Linked DNA regions of Homo sapiens: all the other regions are linked to region 4. The links are contacts of gene promoters, found by promoter capture Hi-C in human tissues and cell types (Jung and others, 2019). All regions are on one chromosome and are shown on one strand. Each heading gives the region's core, a stretch centred on a gene start or on the middle of the fragment in contact. The rest is flanking DNA. Distances are from core to core; before and after follow the strand shown. Region 1 holds the start of LOC105370411 (a long non-coding RNA gene). Region 2 overlaps LINC00596 (long intergenic non-protein coding RNA 596). Region 3 has its middle 21 kb from the start of DHRS4L2. Region 4 holds the start of AP1G2 (adaptor related protein complex 1 subunit gamma 2).

The links. The method cuts DNA at HindIII sites, captures the fragments that hold promoters and counts their contacts. A contact is called where the count stands out against the background at its distance.
Region 1: a contact is called between a fragment that was not itself captured here and the fragment with the promoter of AP1G2 in region 4, in 1 of the 25 tissues and cell types used here (stomach).
Region 2: a contact is called between a fragment that was not itself captured here and the fragment with the promoter of AP1G2 in region 4, in 1 of the 25 tissues and cell types used here (lymphoblastoid cells).
Region 3: a fragment that was not itself captured here is called in contact with the fragment with the promoter of AP1G2 in region 4 in 3 of the 25 tissues and cell types used here (dorsolateral prefrontal cortex, lymphoblastoid cells and spleen).

The regions. Positions count from the first base shown.
Region 1 is chr14:23,927,552-23,931,040 of GRCh38, forward strand. It overlaps LOC105370411 (a long non-coding RNA gene), which reads right to left and starts at 2,463. Exons shown (of 2, transcript XR_943618.2): 1 at 1,655-2,463; 2 at 363-470. It also overlaps a transcript of LINC00596 not described here. The HindIII fragment of the contact is 9,325 bases long and covers 1-3,489 here.
Region 2 is chr14:23,887,369-23,890,806 of GRCh38, forward strand. All of the region lies in intron 2 of LINC00596 (long intergenic non-protein coding RNA 596), which reads right to left. Among named protein-coding and RNA genes, the nearest start is that of LINC00596, 14 kb to the right of the region's middle. The HindIII fragment of the contact is 5,012 bases long and covers 1-3,438 here.
Region 3 is chr14:24,008,259-24,011,798 of GRCh38, forward strand. It overlaps the pseudogene DHRS4L1. Among named protein-coding and RNA genes, the nearest start is that of DHRS4L2, 21 kb to the left of the region's middle. The HindIII fragment of the contact is 5,422 bases long and covers 1-3,540 here.
Region 4 is chr14:23,565,955-23,569,526 of GRCh38, forward strand. It overlaps AP1G2 (adaptor related protein complex 1 subunit gamma 2), which reads right to left and starts at 1,837. Exons shown (of 22, transcript NM_003917.5): 1 at 1,785-1,837; 2 at 1,157-1,365; 3 at 608-732; 4 at 324-465; 5 at 110-206. The coding sequence starts at 1,360. It overlaps JPH4 (junctophilin 4), which reads right to left. Exons shown (of 6, transcript NM_001146028.2): 6 at 2,084-3,572. It overlaps AP1G2-AS1 (AP1G2 antisense RNA 1), which reads left to right. Exons shown (of 4, transcript NR_110555.1): 3 at 1-1,468; 4 at 1,735-2,122. RefSeq lists enhancers at 1,050-1,139, 1,170-1,409 and silencers at 1,890-1,939, 2,929-3,028. The HindIII fragment of the contact is 7,450 bases long and covers 1,106-3,572 here.

The DNA of each region.
Region 1 (3,489 bases), core at 929-3,428, 360 kb after region 4:
GTTAAAAGTTTAGTTCTACTTCCATTGCTAATTTCTTACACATATTTCATCTTCATTATTTTTAACAGCTACATAATATTCATTTGGGGTAAAACTCAGTTCTTCAGTTTTTATTCCAAGTTTTCACAATTGTAAATATCAGTATAACAATCTATAATTTTTTCTTCTTTGAATTATTGCTTTAGGACAAGTTCCCGGAGTGGTAGTATTGAATCTAAGGAATGTTTCATGTCACATTTAGCCAAATAACTCTCTTAGAAAGGTCAGAGCAGTTGTAATTCCTCATACAGGTATAAGGACACATCTTACTTTTGTTCCATCAAATACAATAATTATACTTATCAACAAAAAATGCTTCCTCATGATGTTCTGTTTATATATTTCTGTAATAAATAAATAACTCAGGTCAATGTCTTCTCTTTAGGTTTCTGTGTTTAATGCAGACTTCTGTTAGAAGCAGTCCTCAGAGCCTGTTGGAATAATGTGAGTGAGTGACTGGTTGGATTTCTAGGACCTCAAAGAGCTTTTAGTTCTTTGTCGCGCCCCACATGAAAGGCAGTTTGGCAAGGTCAAGTATGGTGGGGATGCATTCTCTCTCTCTCTCTCTCTCTCTCTCTCTCTCTCTCTCTCTCTCTCTCTCTCATCCTTGGTAACATTGTTTCATATCCACTGAGCTCTTTTTATGTTACTAGAAAATCCAATCGTGTTTCCAATGTATATTCTTTTAAGAGATCTTCTCTTTTTGCATGTCATCAAAGATGTATTTCCCTTATTATTTAAAATATATATAAGACCCCTCCCACTTTGGAGAGCAGGACCTGGACTTGAACTTGGACTCTTCACTTACTAGTTATATCCCTTGGGCAAATCACTCAGTTTCTTGGAGGTTAATTTCTATCTGTAAGATGGGAGATTAATAATATCTGTCTACCTCACATTGTTGTAAAAATCAAATGAAAAGATGTATAAGTGTGAGAACTGTTTCCTAAATGTTCGTAACTATTCTGTTAGACCATGTAACTCTTCTCTATTTCAAGTCTAATCTCTTATTGATTCTGGAATAAAGTATTCCTGCATCTTTAGTTATTGATTTAGGACCTTTTCTTTCTTTGGCTTACTCAGGAAGTCTAACTATTCAGAAATTGCAATACTCAGATCTATTCCCCAGATCTGCCCTCCTGAAGTGTTTCATTTCTTAATTTAGTTTCTTTAAATTCTGGATCTATTGCTCAGGTTTCTTTACTGATTTAAGTGCCATTTCTGCTTTGTGCAGTTTAAACATGATTTTCAATGTGTCTTTTGCAATAATCATTACTTTCATTCTTTTTTATTCTGACTTTCACTAGGGAGGATGTAATGTCCACTTGATTTCTTTGAAAAGAGGCTCCAGCCATTTTCTGAATTCTGTGTATGGTTCCCTGTGGTTGTTTCTTTCTTTGGGATTAATTAAAATAAAGTTTTTTGTGTGGGCTCATTGGGTGTTTTTTGAAACTTTTTTAGAAAACCCACATTGATTTTTTTTCAGTTTAGTGCATTCTCCCTTAAGTTACTTCAGTGACTGGTCTTTGCTGTACTGCTGAAAATTCTTTAGTAACATTTTTCAATTAATTTTAAGAGAATTTGCAATTAGGAGTTTGACTGGTTTTCTACTCACTCCAATATTTTCCCGGATAATTTTTTTCTACCATGTCAGGCCTTTCTATCTTCTGATTCAATGGAGTCTGGAAAGAATCCAAAGTCTAATTATGGGATTAGAACAAGAAAGCCAAGTACTTTCAATGGAAAACTGAAAAATGCCTTTTTGTGCTTTGTTGCTGCTGTTAAGGCTCAGGCTGAGTCTAAGAAAAGGGAAGAAAGATTGGAATACTGAAATAAAATCTTACCAAAAACGCTTTAATAACCTTACATATTAGCTGCATTCCTAAAGGCTCTGAACCTTCCAGGCATCTCGCAAGCGGCAAGGGCCGCATTCATTTCTTTGGCTATAAATGAAGGGATGCTAAATTATTTCCAAGGTCACTTTTCCATCTCTGAATTTCTACAACATTAAATAATGTTTAAGCTGCGAGTTCAGGCATGAATTAATGTAACCAGAATTATTCCCACTTCTTGCTACCCTGCCCACAAAATGCACACACACACACCCCCACTTTGATTTCCCGATTTTTAAATTGTTCAAATCAATTGTTATGAAACATAAAATGAAGCCGGGAGAGAGAAAATGAGGGAACCGAATACAAAATTCCTCCCTTCTGGAATCAGGGCAGCCTCTGCACCCCCAGATCTCCTCCAACACATGAGGTACTTAAGAGGAGACCCCTCAAGGCAGCACCCTGCCAAGGCATGGTTGAGTCACCAAATCTCAGCCGTTTGGACTGTGAGGGGAGACCCTGCAGCCCTCTGGTGGACAAAAGTGGCATTACAGCCTTCTCTGCATCCAAAAGGTCACAGCCCATCTGAGATGGAAGCGTGATGGATCTATCTGCAAGCGTGACCTGAAATCCTAACCAAGGGCCAACCTGCCCAGGACAGGCTGGATCTTTGCCTCAGAAATGGTGCTTTTGTCATTTTGAGAAACATTATCCCTGCAGATTTCAGATTTGAAACTCAAGAAGGCTATGGTGGATTTCAAATAGGGTAATGTTAAATGGCCTACATTTTTACTAGTATTGTGGGCACTCCTACCAGAAGAAAAATTTTTTAATTCCATATAATTCAGAATGAAGTTAATCAGAATGAAGTTGTTCCCCACTCCTTTCTTGTGTCCTTCCAGCCCTCAGGATGGTAGCAGCTTCCGCTGCCACTAATATGTGGTTGTTTCACCAGCCCATTTGGCTTCTCAGCCCAGTCCAACGTGTAACCAATTTCCTGTTTTAAATTCCCTCTTTGAAATGCCTACAATGATTTTGTTGTGCTTGGCAATAGGAATATGGCAGTGACCAAGACAGACTTCGTTCCAGATCTTATGGAGCTCATAGTCTAGCTCAGGAAAATAAATATTAAATAAGCACTCATTCAGTTAATAATTATTTCAAAAAGGAAGTACATGAGAATGCATAGCAGAGGAACTTAACCTGGAATAAGGATAAATTTTGTAGTTCCACAGGTGACACTAGAAGCTAGAAACTCTAGGCCAGCAGGACTTTACACAGAGACAGTCCCACAGCTATGATGGAAGCACAGAAAGTTGTGATGTTGCCTCTCCTCCTCCCTGGGTCCAGCAGGGAAGAAAGGAAGGGTTCCTAGCCAAAGGCGGAAGTGGAGGATTTCAGGCAGGATTCAGTGCACAGTAGTGACAGAGAAGCAAGGATGGAGTTCTTCTGACAGCCTGCAGGCACCCAAGAAAACTTGGCTCTGCTAGATCTGGCCAGGAAAGAAACCAAAATCTTGAAGGAATGTGTCATCGCCCTGGCAACCTCCAAGCCACGGGAGTCAGACAATGTCCAGACCAAGCCTGACTCAAAAAATGCTTTCCCAAAGATTTAACCT
Region 2 (3,438 bases), core at 201-2,700, 320 kb after region 4:
AAAAATCATATGATCACATCAATAAATGCAAAAAAAATGCATTTGATGAAACACAACATCCTTTCATGGTAAAAACTATTAACAAATTAGGTATAGAGGGAATGTGCCTCAACATACCAAAGGCCATATATGACAAGCCCACAGCTAGTATCATACTCAACAGTGAAAAGTCAAAAGCTTTTCTGCTAAGATTAGGAATAAGACAAAGATGCCCACTCTCATCATTTCCATTCAACGTAGTACTGTAAGTCCTAGCCAAGCAATGAAGAAGGAAGGAAGGAAGGAAGGAAGGAAGGAAGGAAGGAAGGAAGGAGATAGAAAGGAAGAAAGAAAGAAAAGGAAGAGGAGGAGGAGGAAAGGGAGGAGGAGGAGGAAATGAAGGAAGGAAGGAAGGAATCAAAATAGGAAAGGAAGAAGTAAAATTGTCTCTGTTTGAAGATGACATGATTTTATATAAGAAAACTCTAAAGACTCCACCAATAAACTATTAAGACTAATCAACAAATTCAGTAAAATTGCAGCTACAGAATCAACACCAAAAAAATTAGTTGCATTTCTATACACTAACAATGAAATATCTGAAAAAGAAATAAAGAAAATAATTCCATTTATAATAGCATCGAAAACAATAAAATACCTAGGAATAAATTTAACCAAGGAGGTGAAAGACTTGTACACTGGAAACTATAAGATACTGATGAAAGAAATTGAAGAATATACAAATAAATGGAAAGATATTCCATGTTCATGGATTGGAAAAATTAGTATTGTGAAAATATTCACGCTACCCAAAGCAATCTACAAATTCAATCAAATTCCTGTCAAAATTCCAATTGCATTCTTCACAGAAATAGAAAGGACAATTTTAAAATTCGTATGGAACTACAAAAGACCCCAAATAGCTACAGTAATCTTGAGAAAGAAGAGCAAAGCTATAGGCATCACATTTCCTGATTTCAAAGTATATTACAAAAGCATTGTAATCAAAACAGTATGGTACTGACATAAAAACAGATAAATAGATCAATAGAACAGAATCAAGACCCCAGAAATAAACCCACACATATACAATCAGTTAATATTTGACAAAGGTACTAAGAACACACAATGGGGAAAGGATCATCTCTTCAATAAATGGTGCTGGGAAAACTGAATGTCCACATGCAAAAGAATAAAATTGGGCCTTTATCTTACACCACTCACAAAAATTAACTTGATTTGAATTAAAGACTTTTAAATGTAAGATCTGAAACCATAACAATTCTAGAAAAAAATAGAAAAAAAAGTTGCTTGGCATTAGTCATTGCAATTACTTTTTGGATATGACACCAAAAGCAAAAGTAACCAAAGCAAAATAAATAAGTAACTACATCAAGCTAAAAAGTTTCTGCACAAAAAAAAGAACAATAAAACAAAAAGGCAACTTACCGAATGGGTGAAAATGTTTGTAAGCCATATATCTGATAAGGGATTAATATCTAAAATATACAAAGAAGTCATACAACCTAATAACAAAAACTTATAATCCAATTTTAAAATGGGCAAAGAACCTGAATAGATATTTCTCCAAATAATGCATACAAGTGGCTAACAGCTACATGAACAGGTGCTCAACATCTCTAATCACCAAGGAAATGTAAATAAAAACCACAATGAGATGTCACCTCTCATGTCAGGATGACTGTTATCAAAATAGACAAAAGATATATGTTAGTAAGGATGGAGAGAAACAGGTACACTATTAGTGGAAATGTAAATTGATATGGCCATTATGGAAAACAGTATGGAGTTTCCTCAAAAATTAAAGCTAGAATAACCATATGATCTAGCAATCTCACTTCTGAGTATATATGCAATGGAAACGAAATCAGTAGCTCGATGAAATACCCGCCCTCCCATGTTCATTTCAGCATTACTCACAATAGCCAAGACTTGGAAACTACTAAGTGTCAATCGATGGATAAATGCATAAAGAAATTGTGGTGTGTGTTTATATATATGTGAGTGTGTGTGTATGACAAATATTCAGCCATTAAAAAAGGAAACACTACCATTTGTGACAACATGAATCAACCTGAAGGACAACATGTTTAATGAAATAAATGATACAGAAAGACATATACTGTATGATCTCACTTATATGTGGAGTCTAAAAGAGTTGAACTTATAGAAACAGAGAGTAGAATAATGGTTGCCAGCGATGGGGGTTAAGGAGACATAGGGAGATGTTGATCGAAGAGGACAAACCTTCAGTCATAAGATAAACAAGTTCTGGAGAGTTAAAATACAGCATGGGTGGTGACAGATGTGTTAATTTGATTTTGATAATTATTACACAATGCATTTATATATAAAATCGTCACATTGTACACTTCGAATGTGAGATACACAATCTAAATTGTCAATTAAATATTTGAAAATAAGAGAAGAAAAAATGATTGAAAAAAATCAGCTGTTGAACTTTGCAGTTTGGGTGATACTGAGGTTTTCCAGTGAAGGGCAGTGACAGAGCAGCCACGTTGGCAATTTTTTTAGAAAGCTTTCTGTCCTGTGCGGCAGTGAGATGCAGAACTGTGGTCATTTGGTTGCATCCGTTCTCAATATTTAATGTAAGATAAAAGAGGGTATTGATAAATGGCAAGCACTGCATTGCACAAAAGGAGGGAGGGTAGGCTGCCGATGTCAGTATATCCCCCTGGATTTTCCTCCCTAACCTTCCCTGATAAACAACTGACTCCCTGACAGTAGTGAACATGCTCGACAGGGGCAATAGAAAATCAGGAGCAAACTTTCATGCCCAGCAGCTGCCCCACAAGAGCTTTACTCTTCTAAATGTTAAAAAAATTTGAATTATGTAAGCTAGAAGTGAATGTACTGTGAACTTCTTTCAATTTCTTGTAATTCTCTCGCTGACAAGATTTATGGGAAAGAACTGCAGTCATCTAGATCACTTCAGTGCACTAATACAAAAAGTTGTGCTAGGAACTAAATTTTGTGTGCCCCCAAAATTCATATGTGAAAGCTCTAATCCCCAATGTGATGGTATTTAGAGGTGGGACCTTTGGGAGATAATTAAGTCATGAAGGTGGAGCTCTCATGAATGGGATTACTGCCCTTATAAGAAAAGACACAAGCTGGCTGGGTGCAGTGGCTCATGCCTGTAATCCTAGCACTTTGGGAGGCCGAGGCAGGAGGATCACTTGAGCTCAGGGGCTCAAGACCAGCCTGGGCAACATAGTGAGACCCTATTTCTATTTAATTTTTTATGAAAGAAAGAAAAGAAAGATAAGAAGAAGAAAGAAAGAAAGAGAGAGAGAGAAAGGAGGGAAGGAAGGAAGGAAGGAAAAGAAGAAGAAGGAAAGAAAGAGAGAGGGAAGGAGGGAAAGAAGGAAGGGAGAGAGGAAGGAAGGAAGGGATAAAGAGAGAGAAAGAAAGATG
Region 3 (3,540 bases), core at 28-2,527, 440 kb after region 4:
CTGGATGGAGAATAAGTTTGATGACTTGACAGACGTAAGCTTCAGAAGGTCAGTAATAACAAACTACACCCAGCTAAAGGAGCATGTTCTAACCCATTGCAAGGAAGCTAAAAACCTTGACAAAATGTTAAACGAATGGCTAACTAGAATGAAGAATCTAGAGAAGAGCTTAAATGACCTGATGGAGCTGATAACCACAGTACAAGAACTTCATGAAGGATACACAAGCTTCAATAGCTGATTCAATCAAGTGGAAGAAAGGATATCAGTGATTGAATATAAAATTAATGAAATAAAGTGAGAACACAAGATTAGAGACAAGAAAAGAAAAAAGAAACATTCAAATTCAGGAAATACAGAGAACATCACAAAGACACTCCTTGAGAAGAGCAACCCCAAGACACATAATTGTCAGATTCAGCAAGGTTAAGGGCAGCCAGAGAGAAAGGTTGGGTTACCAACAAAGGGAAGCCCATCAGACTAACAGCAGATCTCTCAGCAGAAACCATACAAACCAGAAGAGAGTCGGGACCAATATTCAACATTCTGAAAGAAAAGATTTTTGGAACTAGAATTTCATATCCAGCCAAACTAAGCTTCGTAAGTGAAGGAGAAATAAAATCCTTTACAGACAAGCAGATGCTGAGAGAGTTTGTCACCACCAGGCCTGCCTTACAATAAGAGCTCCTGAAGGAAGCACTAAACATGGAAAGGAACAACCAGTACCAGCCACTGCAAAAACATACGAAATTGTAAAGACCATTGATGCTATGAAGAAACTGCATCAATTAATGGGCAAAATAACCAGCTAACGTCATGACAGGATCAAATTCACATATAACAATACTAACCTTCAATGTAAATGGGATAAATGCCCCAATTAAAAGACACTGACTGGCAAATTGGATAAAGAATCAAGACCCATATGGTGTGCTGTATTCAGGAGACCCAATCTCACGTGCAAAGACACACATAGGCTCAAAATGAAGGTGTGTCTGGAATTGGTGGGTTCTTGGTCTCACTGACTTCAAGAATGAAGCCACGGACCCTCGCAGTGAGTGTTACAGTCCTTAAAGGCAGCGTGTCCGGAGTTTGTTCCTTCTGATGTTCAGACACGTTCAGAGTTTTTTCCTTCTGGTGGGTTCGTGGTCTCGCTGGCTTCAGGAGTGAAGCTGCGGACCTTCACAGTGAGTGTTACAGCTCTTAAGGCGGCATGTCTGGAGTTGTTCGTTCCTCCCATCCGGAGTTGTTCATTCCTCCCACTGGGTTCGTGGCCTCACTGGCCTCAGGAGTGAAGCTGCAGACCTTCACGATGAGTGTTACAGCTCATAAAGGCCGTGTGGACCCAAAGAGTGAGGGGCAGCAAGATTTATTGCAAAGAGCGAAAGAACAAAGCTTCCACAGTGTGGAAGGGGACCCAAGCAGGTTGCTACTGTTTGAAGGGGTGGCTTGCCCCTCCACACCTGTGGGTATTTCTAGTCAGGTGGGACGAGAGACTGAGAAAGAGAAATAAGACACAGAGACAAAGTATAGAGAAACAACAGTGAGCCCAGGGGACCGGCGCTCAGCATACCAAGGACTTGCACCGGCACCGGTCTCTGAGTTCCCTCAGTTTTTATTGATTATTATCGTCATTATTTCAGTAAAAAGGAATGTAGTAGGAGGGCAGGGTGATAATAAGGAGAAGGTCAGCAACAAACGTGAGCAATAGAATCTAATAATTCAGTTCAAGGGAAGGTACTATGACTGGACATGCACGTAAGCCAGATTTATGTTTCTCTCCACCCAAACATCTCGGTGGAGTAAAGAATAACGAGGCAGCATTGCTGCAAACATGTCTCGCCTCCCACCATAGGGCGGTTTTTCTCTCATCTCAGAACTGAACAAATGTACAATCGGGATTTATACCGAGACTTTTAGTTCCCAGGAGCAGGCAGGAGACAGTGGCCTTCCTCTATCTCAACTGCAAGAGGCCTTCCTTTTTTACTAACCCACCGCAGCACAGACCCTTTATGGGTGTCGGGCTGGGGGACAGTCAGGTCTTTCTCATCCCAGGAGGCCATATTTCAGACTATCACATGGGGAGAAACCTTGGACAATACCCTGCTTTCAAGGGCAGAGGTCCCTGCGGCTTTCTGCAGTGCACTGTGCCCCTGGTTTATTGAGACTAGAGAATGGCGATGACTTTTACCAAGTATACTGCTTGTAAACATTTTGTTAACAAGGCACGTCCTACACAGTCCTAGATCCCTTAAACCTTGATTTCATACAACACATGTTCTTGTGAGCTCCAGGTTGGGTCAAAGTGGTTGGGTCAAAGTGGCTGGGGCAAAGCTAAAAATTAACAACATCTCAGAAAAGCAATTATTTAAAGTACAGGTCTTTTTCAAAATGTAGTCTCTTATGTCTTCCCTTTCTACATAGACACGGTAACAGTCTGATCTCTCTTTCTTTTCCCTACATATCCCCCTTTTCTTTTTGACAAAACTGTCATTGTCACCATGGCCTGTTTTTGCTGGTCACTGTCTTTCTGGAACTGCTGGATACACCTGTAGACTAACAATAGAGAGGGCAGACATACAAGGATTAATACAAAATTTGCAATAGTGGAATTTCCAATGGTTTTAACCCAAGTGATGGGGGCAAGAGGACAGTGTGGGTGCTCCGGCACCCAGGCAGTCTCCCTTCTCCTTTGTCTCTTAGTTGTTGTTTCTCATAGTTTTCAATCTTTCTCCTCACCTGCTCACTCGCACTTTTTGTTTCATTGTCTCCCTTCTCTTATGGTCTCTCTCTCTTTTTCTCTTTTTCTTCCTTTTACACTATTTCTTTTCCCAGTCTCACTTTCTGTGTCTCTCTCTGATCTCTGTCTTTCTCTTTTACATTATTTTTTTCCCCAGTCTCACCTTCTGTGTCTTTCTCTGATCTCTGTCTTTTCCAGTCTCTCTCTTACTCATTTTCTCCCTCTCTTTCTCTCTCTCTCTCTCTCTCTCTGTCTGTCATCCCGTGTCCTCTCTCCTTCACACTCAGTCTCTTTTTCTTTTTCTTTTTCTCCCTGGCTCTCCACATCTGCCGTTTTCTCTCCTTTCTCTTTCTGATTTCTCTTCTCACTTTCTCTCTTCCTTTCTTTCCCAGTTTCTCTTTTTTCTCTGTTGGTCTTTCCCAAATAATGAAAAGGAGTGGAGGTCTGAATGTTATCAGATGCTATTGTCAGGCCTGCGTTTGCAACCTCTGTCTGCAGAAATGTGTAACAGTCAATTAATTTGTCTCTCGTTTCTGCAGCACTCAAAATATCATCAACATAATGAATAATATAACAGTCTGAAAACTTGTCTCTAACTGGTTGAAGAACTTGAGCTACAAAAGTCTGACAAATAGTTGGACTATTAAGCATTCCCTGAGGCAACACTTTCCGCTGAAATCTGGTGGCTGGTTTTTTATTATTTATGGCTGGTATAGTAAAAGCAAATTTTTTTAAATCCTATTTTGCCAGAGGAATGGTAAAAACGCAATCCTTTAGCTCAATTATAATTAAAGGCCAAT
Region 4 (3,572 bases), core at 587-3,086:
TGCCTGTGTGTGTGCACTACCCTTCTCCTGTGAGCTGGGGTTCCCATCCGATTTTCAATTCTTCTGTCCATAGACCTGAAGCAAAGGATGGGGGGCCCCACAGCCTTACCATGGTGACGCTCATGAAGCAGTTGGGCACAGGGTGGGAGGAAGACACTGGAGAGTTCAGGGACCTTCCGGATCATGTGCACTGCAGTCAGAATAGCCTGCAGAGGTCAGGGGCCTCAGACAGGGGTCAGAGGAGATGGACCCCTGCATCTACTACTATATAGCACGCAGCAGGCAGTGTGCAGGAGCACGTGCCAGGAGTCCCGCCATCTCACCTTCTTGCGCACGTAGGGACTGGGCTGCAGGAGCAGTTTCTCCACCTCTGGGGCCAGGTCTCGGCACATCTCAGCAGAGCCCATGGTGCTCAAAGTGCACAAGGCCAGGCCTTGTACTGGCTGAATCCCCTGGCTCAGGTCACTGCAGGGTTTGGGAGGACGGTCAGTCAAACCTCTGAGAAAATCAGTCCTTTTCAATACCCACAACAGGCAGTCCCCTGGGATTTCCAAGGTCCCTACTCTCCCATCTCCCTGATTCCAAGTGATTGCCAGAACCCTCTCACTTCTTGATGCTGTTGGTAATGAGCAGGTGGGCATCGTGCCTCTCATCCAATAGAAGCATGGCCCCCAGGTAGCCCACCCTCTTGTCTGTGAATCTGGAGGAGGCGATCAGTTTCAGGCACTCCATCTATAGTGAAGGGGGCAGACCAGGAAGAGGCAGGGGTGAAACCATAGACACTCACATCCCTGTTCCATCTTCCTCTTTAAAACCAGATTAACCTGTGGGGCATCATATCTCATCACTCTCCCTTCAACAAGAGGAGAAGCTTAGGAAATTCAGGCGTTAGTGGGTAGGAGGAACTAGGAGTTGAGGAGGATGGGAGCGGAGAGGAGGAGATGCCTGCCCTAAAGGAGGCTGGCCAGAGAATGAAGGGTTCAGGCCAGCTGATGACCAGTAGGGGTAGCAATGGGGAAAGAGGTTTGCAGTGCAGGCTGTGAAGACTCTGAAATTGTAGAATTTAAAAAACCAGGGCATAAACAGGTGAGAGAGTCTGGGACTCTGCCCCACTAGCCTTCATCAAGCTCAGGAGGGAGGTATTCCTGGCCAGTACCTGTCCAAAGTGGGCGGGGTAGCCCAACATGTGGACGTAGAGCAGTTTGGCCAGCTGCCGGTGCCTGTGCACTGGGTCCCCGTCGCGGAAGGAGGCCCGGATGTGGGCACACTCCTTTTGGATCACCTCCCGCTCCTGGGCCTGAGTCTTGGCCCCGCGAATCTCTTCGATGAGGTCCTGAAGCTTCAGCGAAGGCACCACCATCCTGACTGGCAGAGTCCGGGAGTGGAGAAACACTCTCTGGTCGGGCGTGCCTGGGCTTTCGGCCCAGGCCCGTCCTGTGTCAAGACCCTAAGAGCCCGGGTCCCACAGGTACCCTAAAATTGCGCCCGCATTTTACCTTTCCCGAAGTGGGTCTCCAAATTCCGCGCCCACCCCACCGCCCGAGAAGCCCACTACGCATGCGTCCGCACCCCACCGGCGCCCCTTCCTATTGAGCATGCGCGGGAGCCCCACCTATTTCTCTCTACCGTTTCCTCCCCCTACCTGGTACCCCATCCCTAGCTCAGCCATTGCTTTTTTTTCCACGACCCTCCGCTGTTTCTTCCGCGAGCTTCCTCCCCCGATTTCCATCTCAGGCAGCGGCAGCGGCAGCGACAGCCTGCCTACCCCAGGACTCCAGCCTCACCTGGCTTCTGCCTCAACTCCGCTCCTCTGCCCCCCAGCGCTTCCTGGTACGGGGCCGAGCAGGGGTTGGTGCTCCGTGCGGTCCTTCCCTCTCCCCGCCTCCACCACGGGACCCCGCCCTCCTGGGCCGACTGCAGAGCCTTCCTGAATCCTCTGACCTCGGGCCTCAGGCTTTAGCGGAGAGACAGCATGATAGGCCTGGAGTTCTTCAAGAGGCCTCCTCGCACATCCTTACCACCCGGAGAGCCTCAGTTTGGATTTGAAGCCATCGCACCCCAAAGGAGATGACAATCCCCCCCCTTTTTTGAACTTTTTTATTAATATATTTTTTTTGTTAAATTTCTTTGTATTTTTTTCCTGCAAGACTTGGTGTTGGCGGCACTGTTGTAGTTTAACTTCAATCCCAAATTCCATGAAATAGAAATCAGAAGTAAAGGTTGAGAGGGGAGGAAGGAGGGAGGCAAGCCAAGGAATAAACAAGAGTTTGACTAGAAAAAAAGAAGAGGGTATGTGTGGTGGGCATTCCTGGGCAAGGCCATTCCTTGAGGGAGGGGGTTGGCAGGCAGCTTGCCTCTGCCTCATGCAGGGGAGGGAGGAAAGATCCCCTGGGGACCCTGCAGTCCCCTCTTCCTAGGGCTTCCTGCTCCCAGGGGAAAAACTAATACCAGAGAGGGATCAGCCACAACCTCAAACAGGGCTCTCCACCCACCTGTCACCCGGGTTTGACTCCCACCTCTGCCCTGCCTGGGAAGCATGTGAGATCAGCTATCTTTGATCCCCTCCTTCTGTTGTTTTCCCATTTCACAAGATTCTGATGTAAAGGGGGAAGGGATATAACCCATTTTGGGACTACTAAACTTGTCACAGCTTCTGCTTCCATGTGAGCTCCTGTTATCTTGTCTGGTCCTATCCCCCAGAAGTGCCTCCTCCCACCACAACTCCCAGAGTTGGGATGTGGGGGCCTTGCTCAAGTGCCTCTAACCCTCTGCAGTAGAAATGTCTTCTTCAGGCCCCTTAGGAATTTAATCAAAGGCCACAAGTGAGTCCAGACCAACCAAATAAACTATTATGGGGGAGACAGAAGGGTGGGAGAAGTCAGTGGCAAAGTCTGGGCAGGGTGGACTTGACTGCATTGGATATTCTCTGTTCCTTTACACGTTGCTCTTGGCATGGCATGCCACCAGAGGGGGCTGGAGGAGGGGCTGGCCGATGAGGAGAAAAAGAGGGAAATGCTGGGGAGTTACTCTACTTTTCACTTCCCTTCTCTCCTTCAGGGAAGGATGGAATTGGGCAGTAACCCAGCTCAGTGCTTGGAGGTAAGATAATAGCCTCCAAGATTAGAGGTGGAGGATGCACCTCCTGCAGCTTTTTCACTAGGCCTCAGAGGGACAGCAGGCCCCTTAGGCTAGGGAGCCACAGCAGCTCAGCCAGTGCCTTGCCCGACATTCAATCACTCCTTCTTCATTTTCTTCCTCCTCTCCATTCAGCTTCCAGGAGTCTCCTTAGGACACCAAACCCCCACCCGCAGCGAAGTTGAGGTCTAAAGAAAAGGTGGGAGGGCGTGGAGCAATGGTCTGACTTAGATTTGTGTGTCTCAGAGAAGACAGCAACTCTGAGAGAGAAAAGCCCTTCATATGTAAACAATCTAGAGAAAGAAGGGGTTGGGATGGGGAAGGGAGTGAGGAATACAGAGACAGATCCAGAAGAAATGAGATAATCTGAAAGAAGACAGGGAAAGAAAAAGCGAGAGAAAAAAACAAAGGAGCACAGAAAAGAAAGGAAGAAGAGA